Linked DNA regions of Homo sapiens: region 1 is linked to region 2. Evidence: promoter capture Hi-C in human tissues and cell types (Jung and others, 2019). All regions are on one chromosome and are shown on one strand. The core of a region is centred on a gene start or on the middle of the fragment in contact, and the rest is flanking DNA. Distances in the headings are between cores, read along the strand shown.

Region 1 (7,280 bases), core at 4,628-7,127, 520 kb after region 2:
GCCATGGGCTTGGCTCCTTCCTTCCATGGCTTCCTCAGGCTAGGCTGGTTTTGCACCATACCACAGTCCCAGGGTAGACTCCTTACGGGGCCACTGACCTCCTGGGAAGCTGCCAGGCTTCCTTACTGCCCAGAAGTGACACCCCGCCACTTCTGCCACATTCTACTGGTAAAGCAGGATCTGGAGCCTGTCCCAATTCAAGGGGAGGGGGCTACACAGGGGCCAGAACACGAAGACACGTGGCTCATCCGGGGTAGCAGAAGGGCCACTGACCATAGCCTGGGACCCCCCCCCCCACCCACCCAAAATCTGGAGCCTGGGGCAACCTGTGCTCCTCTCTGAGCCTCCACTCTTTGTTCAGAAGTGAGTGGAGTCCAGGTGCGGTGGCTGATGCCTGTAATCCCAGTACTTCAGGAGGCCAAGGTGGGAGGATCTCTTAAGCTCAGGGGTTCAAGACCAGCCTGGGAAACATAGTGAGACCCTCATCTCTTAAAAAAATAGAAAATCGGCCAGGCGCGGTGGCTCACACTGGTAATCCCAACACTTTGGGAGGCCGAGGAGGGCAGATCACGAGGTCAGGAGATCGAGACCATTCTGCCTAACACGGTGAAACCCCATCTCTATTAAAAATACAAAAAATTAGCCGGGCGTGGTGGCGGGCGCCTGTAGTCCCAGCTACTCAGGAGGCTGAGGCAGGACAATGGTGAACCCAGGAGGCGGAGGTTGCAGTGAGCCGAGATCATGCCACTGCACTCCTGCCTGGGCGACAGAGCAAGACTCCGTCTCAAAAAAAAAAAAAAAAAAAAAAAAAAAAAAAAAAAGCTGGGCATGGTGGTGGCCCACGCCTGTAGTCTCTGCTACTCAGGAGGCTGAGATGGTAGGGTCACTTGGCTCAGGAGCTCAAGGCTGCAGTGAGCTATGATTGTTAAACATAGGGCCCAGCGTGGAGCCTCACCTATAATCCCAGCACTTTAGGAGGTGGAGGCGGGAGCATTGCTTGAGGCTGGGAGTTGGAGACCAGGGGCAACATAGCAAGACCCTTTCTCTACCAAAAAAAAGTTTGTAATTAGCTGGACATGGTGGCAACTGCCTTTGGTTCCAGCTACTCAGGAGGCTGAGGCAGGAAGATCACTTGAGGCCAGGAGTTCAAGGCTGCAGTGAGTTAAGATCATGCTACTGCACTCCAGGCTGGGAGACAGTGAGACACTGTCTCAAAAAAAAGAAAAGGGGAAAAAAAGTGGATTAGGCCCCTAACGGTCTCCAAGCTCCAAGGACTTTGTATTGCTGGCCTCTGTGCGGCCTCAGTTATGCCCAGCGTCCGCAGCTGGTGGCTGGTGCAGGCGTCCTTCCATGTTTACTCAGCAGCCTCCCTAATGTCAGTCTTTAAGTGGTCTCTTGGATCCACCTGGCCTCTGCGTCTCTGGGGAATGAGTGTTGTGGGAGAGAGAGAAGGCAGCTGCCCCTCCGCCACCCCATGTGACTCATCAGTGGACCTCAGGCCCGCTGCATCCCACCCACACCTGCCCCATCACAGCTGCTCTTGGGTGCAGCATGTAAACACCTGCTCTCTCAGAGCTCCCCCTCCTGGGGACCGCTACAGCCTTGGGTGTCCCCCACCCCGGGCCATGCCTGCATACTTAGAACAACCCATAAAACCACCCAAGGACTGAAGTCTCCAGGATCTGCTGTCCCAGGGACACAAGAACTGTCCAGGGTGGGTACAGGAGAAGGGAAGGAGCCTGGCTGTCCTGGGCACGTCACATGCGACCTGGCAGGAGCCCAAAGCAGGGGTGGCGCTGAGCCCTAGCCTGACCCGGGCTGCACCGGCTGGAGTGACCAGACGGGAAGGTCACTGAGGCAAACCCAGGTGCTCCCGTCTTCTTCCCATAGGATGGAGACCTGGTGGAATAGAACAAGTGTGTTAGTCCGTCTTGACACTGCTTCCTGAGACTGGGTTATTTATAAACAAAAGAGGTTTAATTGATTCAGCGTTCCAGGTGTCTGGGAGGCCTCAGGAAACTTACAATCACCATGGAAGGCAAAGGGGAAGCAGGCACCTTCTTGGCAAGGCGGCAGGACAGAGAGAGAGAGAGGCGGTGGTGGGGAGGAAGGGTGGAACTGCCAAACACATTTTATTATTTTTTTCTTTTTTTGAGACAAGAGTCTCACTCTATCACCCAGGCTGGAGTGCAGTGGCACAATCTCGGCTCACTGCAAGCTCTGCCTCCCGGGTTCATGCCATTCTCCTGCCTCAGCCTCCTGAGTAGCTGGGACTACAGGCAGCTGCCACCATGCCCGGCTAATTTTTGTATTTTTAGTACAGACAGTGTTTCACCGTGTTAGCCAGGATGGTCTTGATCTCCTGACCTTGTGATCCGCCCGCCTCAGCCTCCCAAAGTGTTGGCATTACAGGCGTGAGCCACTGCACCTGGCCCACCGCCAAACACTTTTAAACCATCAGATCTTGTGATAACTCACTATCATGAGAGCAGCATGGCGGAACCCCCCACCCCCCACCCCATGATCCAATCACCTCCCATGAGAACCCTCCCTCAACACATGGGGATTACAATTGGAGATGAAATTTGGGTGGGGACACAGCCTAACTGTATCAGCAGGCTTCTCATCCACAGTAACAGTGCTCCCGAGGGACACCGGACAATGTCTGGAGACACTTGCTGTCACAGCTTAGAGGAGGGTGCTACAGATACCAAGTGGGTGGTGGCCAGAGATGCTGCTTAACATCCTACATGCACAGGACAGCCTCCATCCCAAAGAAAGATCCCATCCCAAACATCAACAGAGTCGAGTGGAGACACCCCGGCACAGAGGAAGCCCACACCTGGGTGCGCAGAGTCTGGTCCGGCTGGGAGGAGAAGGGCTGTGCTCATCCTGCCCAGAGGGACCTGGGAGCTGGGGTCCCGCGGAGCAGTGACCTCACCTGGTAGGGGGCAGGTGGGGCCGAGGTCCACATCCCTGCCTCTGCTGCTGTCCTCCCTGGTGCCCTCCCTGACCCCGCCCTGCCTTCCTTCATCCGCTGCGCCCTCCACCCACAATGCCATGGCCTGCATTTAGGATCCTCCTGAGGCAGGAGGATCACTTGAGCTCAGGAGTTTGAGACCAGCCTGGGCAACAGCAGGACCCCCTCCCCCCAACTCTTAAAACAACAGAAAATTAGGCCGGGCACGGCGGCTCACGCCTGTAATCCCAGCACTTTGGGAGGCTGAGGTCAGGAGATGGAGATCATCTTGGCTAACACGGTGAAACCCCGTCTCTACTAAAAAAATACAAATAAATTAGCCGGGCGCGGTGGCGGGCGCCTATAGTCCCAGCTACTCGGGAGGCTGAGGCAGGAGAATGGCGTGAACCTGGGAGTTGGAGCTTGAAGTGAGCCGAGATTGCACCACTGCACTCCAGCCTGGGCCACAGAGCAAGACTCCGTCTCAAAAAAAAAAAAAAAAAAAAGACAGTCTGTAACTCAGCCACAGACAGCCGTAGCCAGGATCTCACCCCTGAGAAGGACATCTGCTGCAGCCACATGCTGGCCCCAAAGAAAACTGGCTCTAAATTGGCCTCTAGACAGTTCTAGACTGCATCTCAAAAAAAAAAAGAAAAGAAAATTAGCCAGGCATGGTGGCTGAAAAGGTGGGCTGTTGAGCCCCTACCCACCCTATGGAGCCAAGCTCAGCAGTGTCTCATCCAGGAAGCTCTCACAGACAAGTATGGTGTTCCCACAGGCCCTTGCCCTAGCTCACGCCTCTCATGCCCTGGCAACTAAGAGTGGGGGCGCGGCAGACCCATCCCTGGAGAGACACAGGACTGTTTTTCTCACCAAACTGGCCTGATGACAGACAGGCAGATGGACAAGAACGTGCAGGCCTTGGCTTTTATTGAGATCAGAGCTGTGGGCTCCCCGGCCTCTCAGGGAGGCGGTGGCGGGGGGGCCTGATTCTGCACTCAGCCCGGCCTCCCAGGTACAAGTGGCTGACTGGAGTCTAAGCAGGCTGCAAGGGCACGGCCATGCTTCTATTGCTTCTGCCCCTCCCTCGGAACCTCCTCCTCCTCCCTCTCCCCATCACATTCTCCCGAGGCCCAGGCCTGGGCGCTGGGCCGCTGCCTGGGCCACCCCATGTGGCAGGGCCACTGCCGGGGGCCGAGCCCCTCCTGCTCAGGCTGCCTCCTCGGCCATCCTGCCCCTCCTGTACCCAGTCCTGGCACTCGGGATCCCTATGGCCTCTCCAGGGCCCCAGAGCGGGTTCTCTTGCACAAGGGACACATGGCCTCTTCCCAGGTCCCCCAGGACCTCTTGGGCCTGAGCCTAGAAGGACTAGGCTGGGGGAGGGCACCCTTGTCTGGGTCCATGCTGGAACTGGAAGCTGAGGAAAGAGGAGAGAAAGGAGTCACTTGAGGGACCCAAGGGGAGGCTGGGGGGGAGGCTGGCAGCCCACCCTGGGGTTTCCAGAATCCGATATTCTTGAAAACAGAAGGGAGGAGGGCAATGCTTCCTCCTTAACAGAATCCCCAGGGGAGGGAGGAGGTTGAGGGAACAGAATGGTTCAAGCTGGAAGGACCCTCATCTAACCTGAACCCTCATTTTACAAGTGAGAAAACTGAGGCCCAGCAAGGGAGACAGATTCCAAGGCCCCTCACCGAGTGTGGAGCTGGGGCAGTCACCCAGCCCTCCCTCCCAGATCCTCCCTTTTTCTCGCACCGCTTTGTCCCTGGTGGATTCTCCAGACCCCGCTTAGCTGTGCGTGATGCAGAGATGGGGACAGATTCATCAAGATCTTGGCCTTCTGGGGCATGGTGCCACTGTGGAGGCTTGGGAGTGGAGAAGGGCCCGCCTGAGGCCCCAGCCCAACCATCCCCTAGGGTCTTCCCCCGTGCCCAGTCCTGCCTTGACAGAGCTCACCACTGCTTCCCAGGCTGTCCCTGGGCAATCGGGCTTCCAGAAGGGCTGAACAGAGGCTGTTACGTGGGCCCAGAGTCCCCTGTGGCAGGTCCAGGGCCCAGGCTGTGCCCTCAGGCTGTGGCAGGCAGCCCCCAGCCATAAGCCGGCCCAGCCAGTGGCTCTCACACTGGCCAGTGGGTGGCGGGTGGCTCTCCAGGTAGAGGCCCAGGCCCCGGAGGTGGCGCAGCCGGAAGTTCTTGGGCTTGCTTCCCTGGGCACTGGGGCACTGCGGCTGCGGGGACCCCAGGCCCCCCTCGTAGATGTTGGGGGGTGCGTCAGGGTGGCCGGGGCGTCCTTGGGCCTGGCTCACTGCATCTGCAGAGGAGACAGCGGGAGGGTGGTGGCCAGCCCCCCACAGCAGCCATGAGGGGAGGGTGCAGTCACATACCTCTGAGACCAGCTCACATGATGGGCTACACCCCCAGCCAACCTGGCCTCAGTTTACCTGTGTGTCAAATAGTCTCAGTCCACTGCCTCCCCTGCCCATGCCCAAGACACGACTCCTCTTCCCACTCCCAACCAACAGGGAGGCCTGGGAAGCCTCGGGCCTTGGTACTAAGAGTGCTTTCAGGACCTCAAGTCCTTTCTACTACCCTGTTCTGCCCGCTACCCTAGGAAGAGTATTCTGGTCCCCACAGAGAAATTGCACAGTGGGTTTGAGAGAAAGTGGCCAGCCCAGGGGCTCATGGCCTGGCCCAGTGGCCATTCCCCTCTCCCAAGCATACATGTCCCTGAGGCCACCCCTCGGCTTTGGGCCCAGGTGGGGACAGAAGCCTATCTCTCTTCCTGCCACTCCTCCCCACAGCCCGGCACCTTCTCTTATGTGCAGCTCAGAAAATGCACAGACCAAGGCTTCCATGGAGGGCCAGTGTGGTGGGGAGGAGCAACCAGGACTTGGGTGCAGCAGGGCCCTGCTCTCCCCTGCCTAGGGGGTACATTGGCAGGTCTCCCCTGGCAACTGGTTCTTATGACATCACGGGGAAGACTCCCAGCCTTCCTGGACCCCTAGTTTGGGAGAGGACAGTGCCCAAGGCAAGGGCAGGGTGAAAGAAAGGCATGGGAAGGGGCCAGAACCCTGGGGGAAGTCCCTGGTCCCTCTGGCTGGGGTCAGGCCACATAAAACAGACAGCTCTGGCAAACTGGAGAGTCCTTCTCTCAGGTGATCTCTTGGGGCCAGCTTCCTCATCTGGGGTGGGAAATGAGGGTTCAGGAGTACAGACCTAGGAAGACCTAGGTCGGTACTTTGAAAATGCTGAAAAGGGGCTGGGGGCGGTGGCTCATGCCTGTAATCCCAGCACTGTGGGAGGCCGAGGCAGGCTGATCAGTTGAGGTCTGTGGGAGGCCGGGGTGGGCGGATCATGAGGTCAGGAGATCGAGACCATCCTGGCTAACACGGTGAAACCCCGTCTCTACTAAAAATACAAAAAAATTAGCCGGGCGTCGTGGCGGGAGCCTGTAGTCCCAGTTACTCAGGAGGCTGAGGCAGGAGAATGGCGTGAACCCGGGAGGCGAAGCTTGCAGTGAGCCCAGATCGCGCCACTGCACTCCAGCCTGGGCTGCAGAGCGAGACTCCGTCTCAAAAAAAAAAAAAAGTTAAACATTCATCTTTCCGGACCTGGCCAAGCAGGAAGCGCCATCATGGGAGCTGACGTCCGCCACAAGAAGGACCTAAAGGTTCGGCGCAAAGAGCCCAAGAGCCAGGATATCTAACTGAGGCTGTTTGTTGGTCAAGCTGTACAGGTTACCGTCCAGACGAACTAACTCCACATTCAACCAGGTTGTGCTGAAGAGGTTGTTTATGAGTCGCACCAACCGGCCACCTCTGTCCGTTTCCCGGATGATCCGGAAGATGAAGCTTCCTGGCTGGGAAAACAAAACGGCCGTGGTTGTGGGGACGCTTAACGGATGACGCGAGGGTTCAGGAGGTGCCCAAACTTAAGGTGTGTGCGCTGCCCGTGACCAGCCGGCCCACAGCGGCATCCTCAGGGTGGGGGCCAAGATCCTGACTTTCGATCAGCTGGCCCTGGACTCCCTCAAGGACGGCGGCCCCGTCCTACTCTCCGGTCTTCGCAAGGGCCGACAGGTGTACCGGCATTTCGGCAAGGCCCTGGGAACCCCACACAGCCACACCAAACGCTATTTCCGCTCCAGGGACCAGAAGTTCGAGCGCGCCAGAGGCCTACGGGCCAGCCGAGGCTACAAAAACGAACCCTCTTATTAAAAAGATTTTGGATGCTGACAAAAAAACAAAAAGTTAAAACATTCAATTTTCTCTTGTCACAGACGACCTGATTTTTCTTTTTTTCTTTTCTTTTTTTTTTTTTTTAAG
Region 2 (7,317 bases), core at 4,235-6,734:
CAGTGGTTACCAGTGTGGACCCTGGAACCCAGCACCTAGGGCCAGTCTCAGCTATGCCACTTGCTAGCAGTGGGCTCCGGCAAGGCCCTTAATCTGGCTGTAAATGGAGTGACAATTGTTTCTCCTGTGGAGCTGTGAGGAGGCAGGTTACACAAAGTGGCTCTGGAGGGTTCGAGGCTCACAGGCAGCCTGACCAGAGACGCTCTCCACTGGAGGGCAGGGATGGCGTCTCAGCCTTGTGGCTCTGAGGCCGGGTGTCCTGGGCTAGGGTGGAGCTTCCCTCCTGGGGAATGGAGCTTCCGTCCCAGGAAGGGCCTCCCACAGCCTGCCAAACACCTGGCGTGCCCCGGTCCCCACCTGAACACATCCGCTGCTGTCCCATAGGAGCCCTGCAGCAGCTCGGGGGCCATGTAGCGGGGGTCTCCCTCCTGGACCTCACCAGCTCCTGCTGTACCCAGCTCCACCAGCAGTCCGAAGTCACCCAGCTTGCAGCGGCCCCGGGGCCCCAGGAAGATGTTGGCAGGCTTGACATCAAGGTGCACCAGGCCCTGGCTGTGCAGATGGGCCAGGGCAAGCAGCGTGTCCCGCAGGTAGCCCCAGACCTGGGCCTCAGGCAGGCTGGCACCCCAGGCCTCACAGTGTTGCTGCAGGCTGGGCCCGCACAGCTCCGTCTGCAGGTACAGGATGCCGCCCTCCTCCCAGGCCTGCTCCAGCCGCACGCAGCATGGGTGCTGCCCCACCTTCTCGTGGCTGCCCACCTCGGCCAACTTGCGGGCCCGGTCCTTGGGGCCCCGGAATGGTGACATGGAACGCTTTACCGCATAGAGCCGGCCGTCCTCCTTGGAGCGCACCTGGAAGGGAGGTGGTACCCACGCACACAGTGAGGGTGAGCCACAAGTGGCACAATCACATAGGGGGACAACCTGGCAGACCCCATTAAGGGTTCACACACGGGGCACGGTGGTGTAGCTGGCATCTGTCTCAGACCCCTGCCCAGGGTAATAACAAAACCAGACAAACCTCCATCCCTCGGGCTGGGTCTGTGGAGACCCAGCGACGGAGGAGCCAGGGCCGACCTGCACTGACCCCAGGGGACCTCTTGGATGTGTCACGAGGTGGAAAAAGCAGCTGCAGAGCAACACAGGCAGCCCAGGCTGTGGTGTGAAAAGTGGGCTCCCCTGTGAGAAAGCTGACCTGGGGGCCAATGTTGTTTGTACTTTTTAACAAAATTGTCTTCATACAGGACTCATACAAGGGAAAACTCCTCTCTAAAAGAAAATATAAATGACTGGAAACTGTGTTTAAGAAAAGCAAGATGGCAGGCAGGGGGTAGCTCAAAGCCTGCCAGCCTGGGGAGGGCTGGCCAGGCACTGCACTCAGGGCCAGTGCCAGAGGCTGGGCCGACTCGCCAAGGACGCTGCACAGCTGGCGCCAGGGCCGGAGGAGATGGCACAGGGGCTGCTGCAGGGCGTGCCAGACTCTGGACAAGGGGCCAGTATGCACAGAGCAACCCCTGGAGGGGCCTGCATTGGGGATGATGGGAGCAGCCAAGTCAAATGTGGAGGGAGCCTGTGAGCCCAGCAGGGACAGGCTGTAGGGAACGGAAGGGGATCAGGCTGCCCAGGACACTGTCCTGCCAAGGGAGGTGCAGAAACACAAAGGAGGTCCCCCAGATGGGCCTAGAAGCCGTCCCCTCACTCACCTTGAAGACCTCTCCGTAGGAGCCATGGCCCAGGCGGCTGAGCCTCTGGAAGCTCTGCTGGAAGAAGGACTCTGGCCGGCTTGGGTCATACCCAGGGCTCTGCAGAGTCTCTGAGGCCTCGCCCCGGAATGACACCCGCCGGGGCTGCAGCTGGTGCCAGCCTGGGGTCCGAGGAGGGAAGAGGCGGCTGATGGGAATGCTGCCCTTGGCAGGGGGCGGAGGTGGGAGGCTCCGGCTGAGCCCCCTGGGCCTCTTGAGGGAGAATCCAGGTTCTGCGTGGCGGAAGTAGGCTGGGACTGGGATGGGGGTGCCACTCAGAGGTGGCGGGGTGCCCTCCGTGGGCATGGGCATGGCCAGTGCAGGAGGCCCTGGGGGCAGAGACAGAGGCTGAGTACAGGGCAGCATGTCCACTCTGATACCACCTGGCCCTGTGGCTCCAAAGAGGCCACAGAAGAGAGCTATGTCTATACCACACACTTATTCTACTTTAAACGGCAATGGGAGCAATAAGCACCTACCAAGAAAAGGCAGAGGACAGATTCATACTCACCTGCCCACCAGGCTGTTGTATTTTAGAGATGATAGAAACATAAGAGGAAAACCATGGGGCCCGTGTTCTTGAGGGTCTTGCAGTCGGGTTAAGAGCAAGGCAGTTTGGAGTCAGACGGGCTGCGCCTGCATCCCTGCCCTCATCACGGCCAGCTCTTTGATCCTAAACTACACAACCTCTTCCGAGACTACACGGGCCCACGATCCCTTATCTCCAATTCCAAAGTGAAAACCCGGAATCCCTCAAGTGTCTTTCTTTTTCATAACTGTCGTGCCAAAACCCAGTTAGTGGTGTCCACTTCCAGAATGGCAGTGTGTGCAGCTCCGTGGACCCCTGCCCCAGTGAAACAGCACAACTGATGACGATTATTCAAAAGCAAGCACTGAAAGCCTCTGGGCATGGTGCCCAGGGCACACAGCAAACAAAGGTTTACACAAGAAAACCTGCCAAGGCCTGGGAATAATGGCAAGCCTGTTGGCACCTGAGCCATGACACTCCTGCCCTCCCACCTCCAGCACCCCTCTCCCCCCGCCTAGCACTGGGGGCAGGTGTGGCCAAGAAGAAGGGCTCCCTCTCCCCCAGCTCCCCGTCAAGGGTTAGGGTGTTTGCCCAGGAGGGCCAGGTTCTCAGCACTTCTCAACCCTCCCAGCTCCACATGGCAGAGGCTAAATTCCAGCTGAGTGTGGCAGACAGGCCAGGGGCTCCTTTCTTCCACCTGCCCCCAAGCATAGAATAGAGGCTATATCTCAGGCCCGGCAGGCTGGGAACATGGAGCCCCAGCTCATTTGTAGGAAGGAGGCTCCACACTGGGAGAGGGCAACCAAGAAGGCCAGAGGCTCCTGCCCAACCCAGCGACCTGCTCCTAAAGCAATAGCAGCACTCAGAGAGGTGCCCCGCTGTCCTGCCCCCAGTTCCACAGCATGGCTCAGACAGAGATTTAGCCTAGGGGTAGACGTAGGTCATAAATAGAGCTCTCCCCACCCACCAACCCCCTGAAAATTGGCTTGATTTGAAACAGTGCGTAGGGAAGTTCAAGTTTAAAGGGGCTGTCAAAATCAGTGGAAGTTTTGGTGGTGCGCCATTAAGAAGAGACTGGTACCCGCATTAGGGCAACCAGCTGAACCATAGGCCAGCTAGTTTACCACAGAGAAGTGGAGAAAGAGCTAGCTAGGAAGAGCCTGCCTGCTGTCAGAACAAACCTCACTGACCTCAAAAGCCACCCTGTCAAAGGAGCTCAAAATTAATTGGATCTGGCCAGGCACAGTGGCTCATGCCTGTAATCCCAGCATTTTAGGAGGCTGAGGTGAGTAAATCACCTGAGGTGAGGAGTTCGAGTCCAGCCTGGCCAACATGGTGAAACCCCATCTCTACTAAAAATACAAAAATTAGCTGGGTGTGGTGGTGCATGCCTGTAGTCCCAGCTACTCGGGAGGCTGAGGCAGGGGAATTGCTTGAACCTGGGAGGCAGAGATTACAGTGAGCCAAGATCATGCCACTGCACTCCAGCCTGGGCAACAGAGCGAGACTCTGTCTCAAAAAAAAAAAAAAATTTAATTGGATTGGACCGTGGAACACTTTATGCCCCAAGGTATTGTTTGTTTGTTTGTTTTTGAGACAGGGTCTCACTCTGTTGCCCAGGCTGGAGTGCAGTGGTATGATCTCGGCCCACTGCAGCCTCCGACTCCCAGGTTCAAGTAATTCTCTTGCCTCAGCCTCCTGAGTAGCTGGGATTACAGGCGTGTGCCAACACACTAGAATAATTTTTATATTTTTAGTAGAGATGTGGTTTCACCATGTTGGTGAGGCTGGTGCACCAAAGTATTATAAAAAACAATAGAGCGGCTGGGTGTGGTGGCTCACGCCTGTAATCCCAGCACTTCGGGAGGCAAGGTGGGTGGATCACTTGAGGTCAAGACTTCGAGACCAGCCTGGCCTACATGGTGAAACCCCATCTCTACTAAAGATACAAATTTTTGCCGGGCGTGCTGGTGCATGCCTGTAGTCCCAGCTACTCAGAGGCTGAGGCAGGAGAAATGCTTGAACCCAGGAGGTGGAAGTTGCGGTGAGCCGAGATTGCGGCATTGCACTCCAACTGGGCGACAAGAGCAAAACTCCATCTCAAAAAAATATACATAATAGTAAATAAAAAATTAAAAAGAGCAGTCTCCAGTACCTGAGGGAGTACAGGGGTGAGGGGAGCGATGCTACCTGGGCCTGGCTGGCAGGCTGCCCTCCATCTTGTGGAGACTCTTCCTCTGACTCTAACTACCTCAGAGTCCCAGCCCAGGGTTTCTCCAAGTCAGGAGCCAGGGTGTTGGGATCCTGGAGGTCACTGGTCACAAGCACAGCCTCCAGGCCCAACCCTGGCACACTCGGGGACCTGGGCCTGTGCATCTTAACCCAGTTCTCCCACCGTCCCTGCCCTACGACTTACGTTCTAGCATGACTGGCCTGGCCCAACAGCCTCAGTGGTGGGACGGGGGAGGCAGGAGCAGGGGCTCCCACGTGAATCCAGGGTGTCCCTGAGCTAAGGCCAGGCGGGGGTGACCTCCGCAGCTTCCGGGGCCCTGGGCGATCGGGCCGTCTCGCCTCACCCTCTCACCAGGCCCGACACATCTGCTGGCCACCTTTCCCGGTAGACGGTAAGTTCCTCCCAGGCAGGGCCGCGGCTGACTTCACTCCGTGGGTGTGGGGAAGCCCTGGCGAACAGAGCAGTGGACGGGCTGTCACGAGGGAAGAGGGGCTGTTGCAGAAGAAGAGAGGCTGTCCCGGGGCAGGGGCTGTCACGGAGGAAGGACTGTCACGGGGAGGGCGGCGGCGCGGGGTTGATGGACAGCAGGCGGGGTCTCCGGGAGGGGCGAGTAGGGCGGGACCGCCGCTGGGAAGGGGCTCGAGGCAAGGGAACCAGGAATTGGGGAGGACGGGAGGCAGGGGCTCGCGGGGGCGGGCCTGAGGGGACGCGAGCGGGCCGCCGGGGAGGCCTGAGGGGCAGGGGTAACGCAGACCTGGCGAGGCGGAGGGGAGCGGCGAGGTGGCCACGCCGAGGCCCCTCACGGCGGGGTCTGGGCTCACCTGGGGCGACTGGGCGGGGCGCGGGTCCGCGAGGGCCCAGATTCCGGGTCCGCGGAGGCCACGGGACCCCTCGGGTGGCTCAGCGGGCCGGAGTCTGCCGTCGACTGTTCCGGACGCCCGGGCGGAGGACTCCCGTGAGGGGGAACGGCCCGTGAACGCGCGCGGAGCTGCTCGCGCCAAAAATTCCAAACCGGCCTCGAGGCTCCTCCCCCTCCCCAGTGCAGCCCGTCAGGGGTGCCCGGGCTCCGAGGCTCCGCCCCTCGTGCTGCGTGCGCGCCGCCGAGCCGCCCCGCCGCTCACTGCGCAGGCGCACAGGATTCTCCGCGCTGGCCCGGGGCGTGGGTGGCGGCCTGGTTCTGAGTCGCTGCGCGGGGCTTCAGCCGCCCAGTCCCTGGGACGCCCACTGCCCTCCAGGCCTCGCACCCGACACCCACCGCCCTCGCTGGGCTGGCGTAGTGTTTGGGTCCATAAAAGGGACCGCCATCCCGGTGCTCGGAGCAGGCGTAGCCCCAGGGTTACTCCGGGTAGGACCAGGAAGTCCCTACGGCCTCCTGGGTCCCGGCACCCCCCTTCTCACTCCGGCCGTGTTCTGAACCAGGGTCGCGGTGGGAGGCCAGACGCACGACCCCCAACCCCTAGCGCACGGCTTCGGGAGCCAGAAAAAGCCGCCTCTTCCAGGAAGCTCTCCAGATAGGCAGGACTCTGCTTGGCCTGACCTCGCCTGCCTGCAGCTTCCCTGCCAACAGGCCTCAGATACTTTTTTTTTTTTTTTTAGACAGGGTCTCACTGTCACCAAGGCTGGAATGCAGTGGTGCAGTCCCCAGGTTCAGGCGGTTCTCCCAACCTCAGCCTGCCGAGTATGTGAGATCACAGGCGCGCGCCACCGCACTCGGCTCATGTATTTTATTTTTAGACAGGGTCTCATTCTGTTGTCCAGGCTGGAGTGCAGTGGGGCGATCTCGACTCACTGTAACTTCCGCCTCCCCCGCTCAAGCGTTCCTCCCACCTCAGCCTCCTGAGTAGCTGGGACCACAGGCGCGCGCCACCACACCCAACTAATTTTTGCATTTTTTTGTAGAGACGGTGTTTTACCATGTTGGCCAAGCTAGTGTCGAACTTCTGACCTCAAGCGATCCGCCCGCCTCGGCCTCCCAGAAGGCTGGGATTACAGGCGTGAGCCACCGCGATTGGCCGCAGGATCATAGTTCACTGCAGCCTCGAGCAGCCACTTCCGGGGCAGCTCCTCCATTCTCTGAGTTTGAGACTTGCTCTCAGCTCAGATCCCTTCAGCGCTCTCCTGGCTGAACGACCTTGGGAATGCACTGAGCCTTTCTGAGCTTCGGATTAGTCTCCTCTCCTGGAAAAAAAAAAACAGCTGAGGACGCTGGGATGATCCCCTAAAGTGATTAGCAGGGGCCCTCGCGGAGCAAGTCGGGCTAGGGATTGTTCCTTCCCTCACCGAGGGGCTCTTTATCTGTTTAACTGGGTGGGAGGAGTACGCTTCCGGCCAACCCTCCCCCAAACGCTGGCCTTCTCACTCTCACCTCTCCTTCCGCCTTATTTTTGCTATTGCCCTGATCTCTGTCCGATGTTCTATCTTTTGTTTGTGAGTTTACTTGTTGACTACCTGCTCCTTCTAGCCCTGGCCTCCAGAACCAGTCCCCCAAACCCTCCATCCTCCCCAAGTCTCTGACAGGTCATGGACTGCAAAGCTTCCCACCCATTCAGTTCCTGCACCCTCTGTAAACGTTCTGTGCATGGAGCAGCAGTGTGGGGGAGGAGAGGCTGGGATCCTGGCTGGGGGCGGCAGCCCACCTGCCTGCACCTTTCCTTGTCCTTCGCATCTCTGGCGGCTGTGCCCCAGTGACTCAGGCAGGATCCTTGTTGATGACTCCAGACTGGCCCCCAGGAGGCCTGGGGCACACACAGGCCCCTCCCCAGCTGCCTAGGGCTACCTCTGCCAGCCCCATCTCCCCAACAGGTCCCCTTCCAA

What was found. Contacts are between HindIII fragments. The study calls those that stand out against the background at their distance.
Region 1: a contact is called between the fragment with the promoter of C16orf90 here and the fragment with the promoter of PKMYT1 in region 2, in 1 of the 25 tissues and cell types used here (spleen).

What each region holds. Positions count from the first base shown.
Region 1 is chr16:3,489,612-3,496,891 of GRCh38, forward strand. C16orf90 (chromosome 16 open reading frame 90) reads right to left here and starts at 5,878. Exons shown (of 3, transcript NM_001080524.2): 1 at 5,765-5,878; 2 at 4,913-5,266; 3 at 3,873-4,376. The coding sequence starts at 5,810. The coding sequence ends at 4,228. It also overlaps a transcript of CLUAP1 not described here and the pseudogene RPL18P12. RefSeq lists a silencer at 3,437-3,646. The HindIII fragment of the contact is 9,668 bases long and covers 1-6,635 here.
Region 2 is chr16:2,974,962-2,982,278 of GRCh38, forward strand. It overlaps PKMYT1 (protein kinase, membrane associated tyrosine/threonine 1), which reads right to left and starts at 5,485. Exons shown (of 9, transcript NM_004203.5): 1 at 5,325-5,485; 2 at 4,687-4,951; 3 at 1,703-2,070; 4 at 358-851. The coding sequence starts at 4,696. RefSeq lists enhancers at 4,175-5,051, 5,052-5,927, 5,928-6,804 and silencers at 5,219-5,448, 5,459-5,818. The HindIII fragment of the contact is 14,611 bases long and covers 2,441-7,317 here.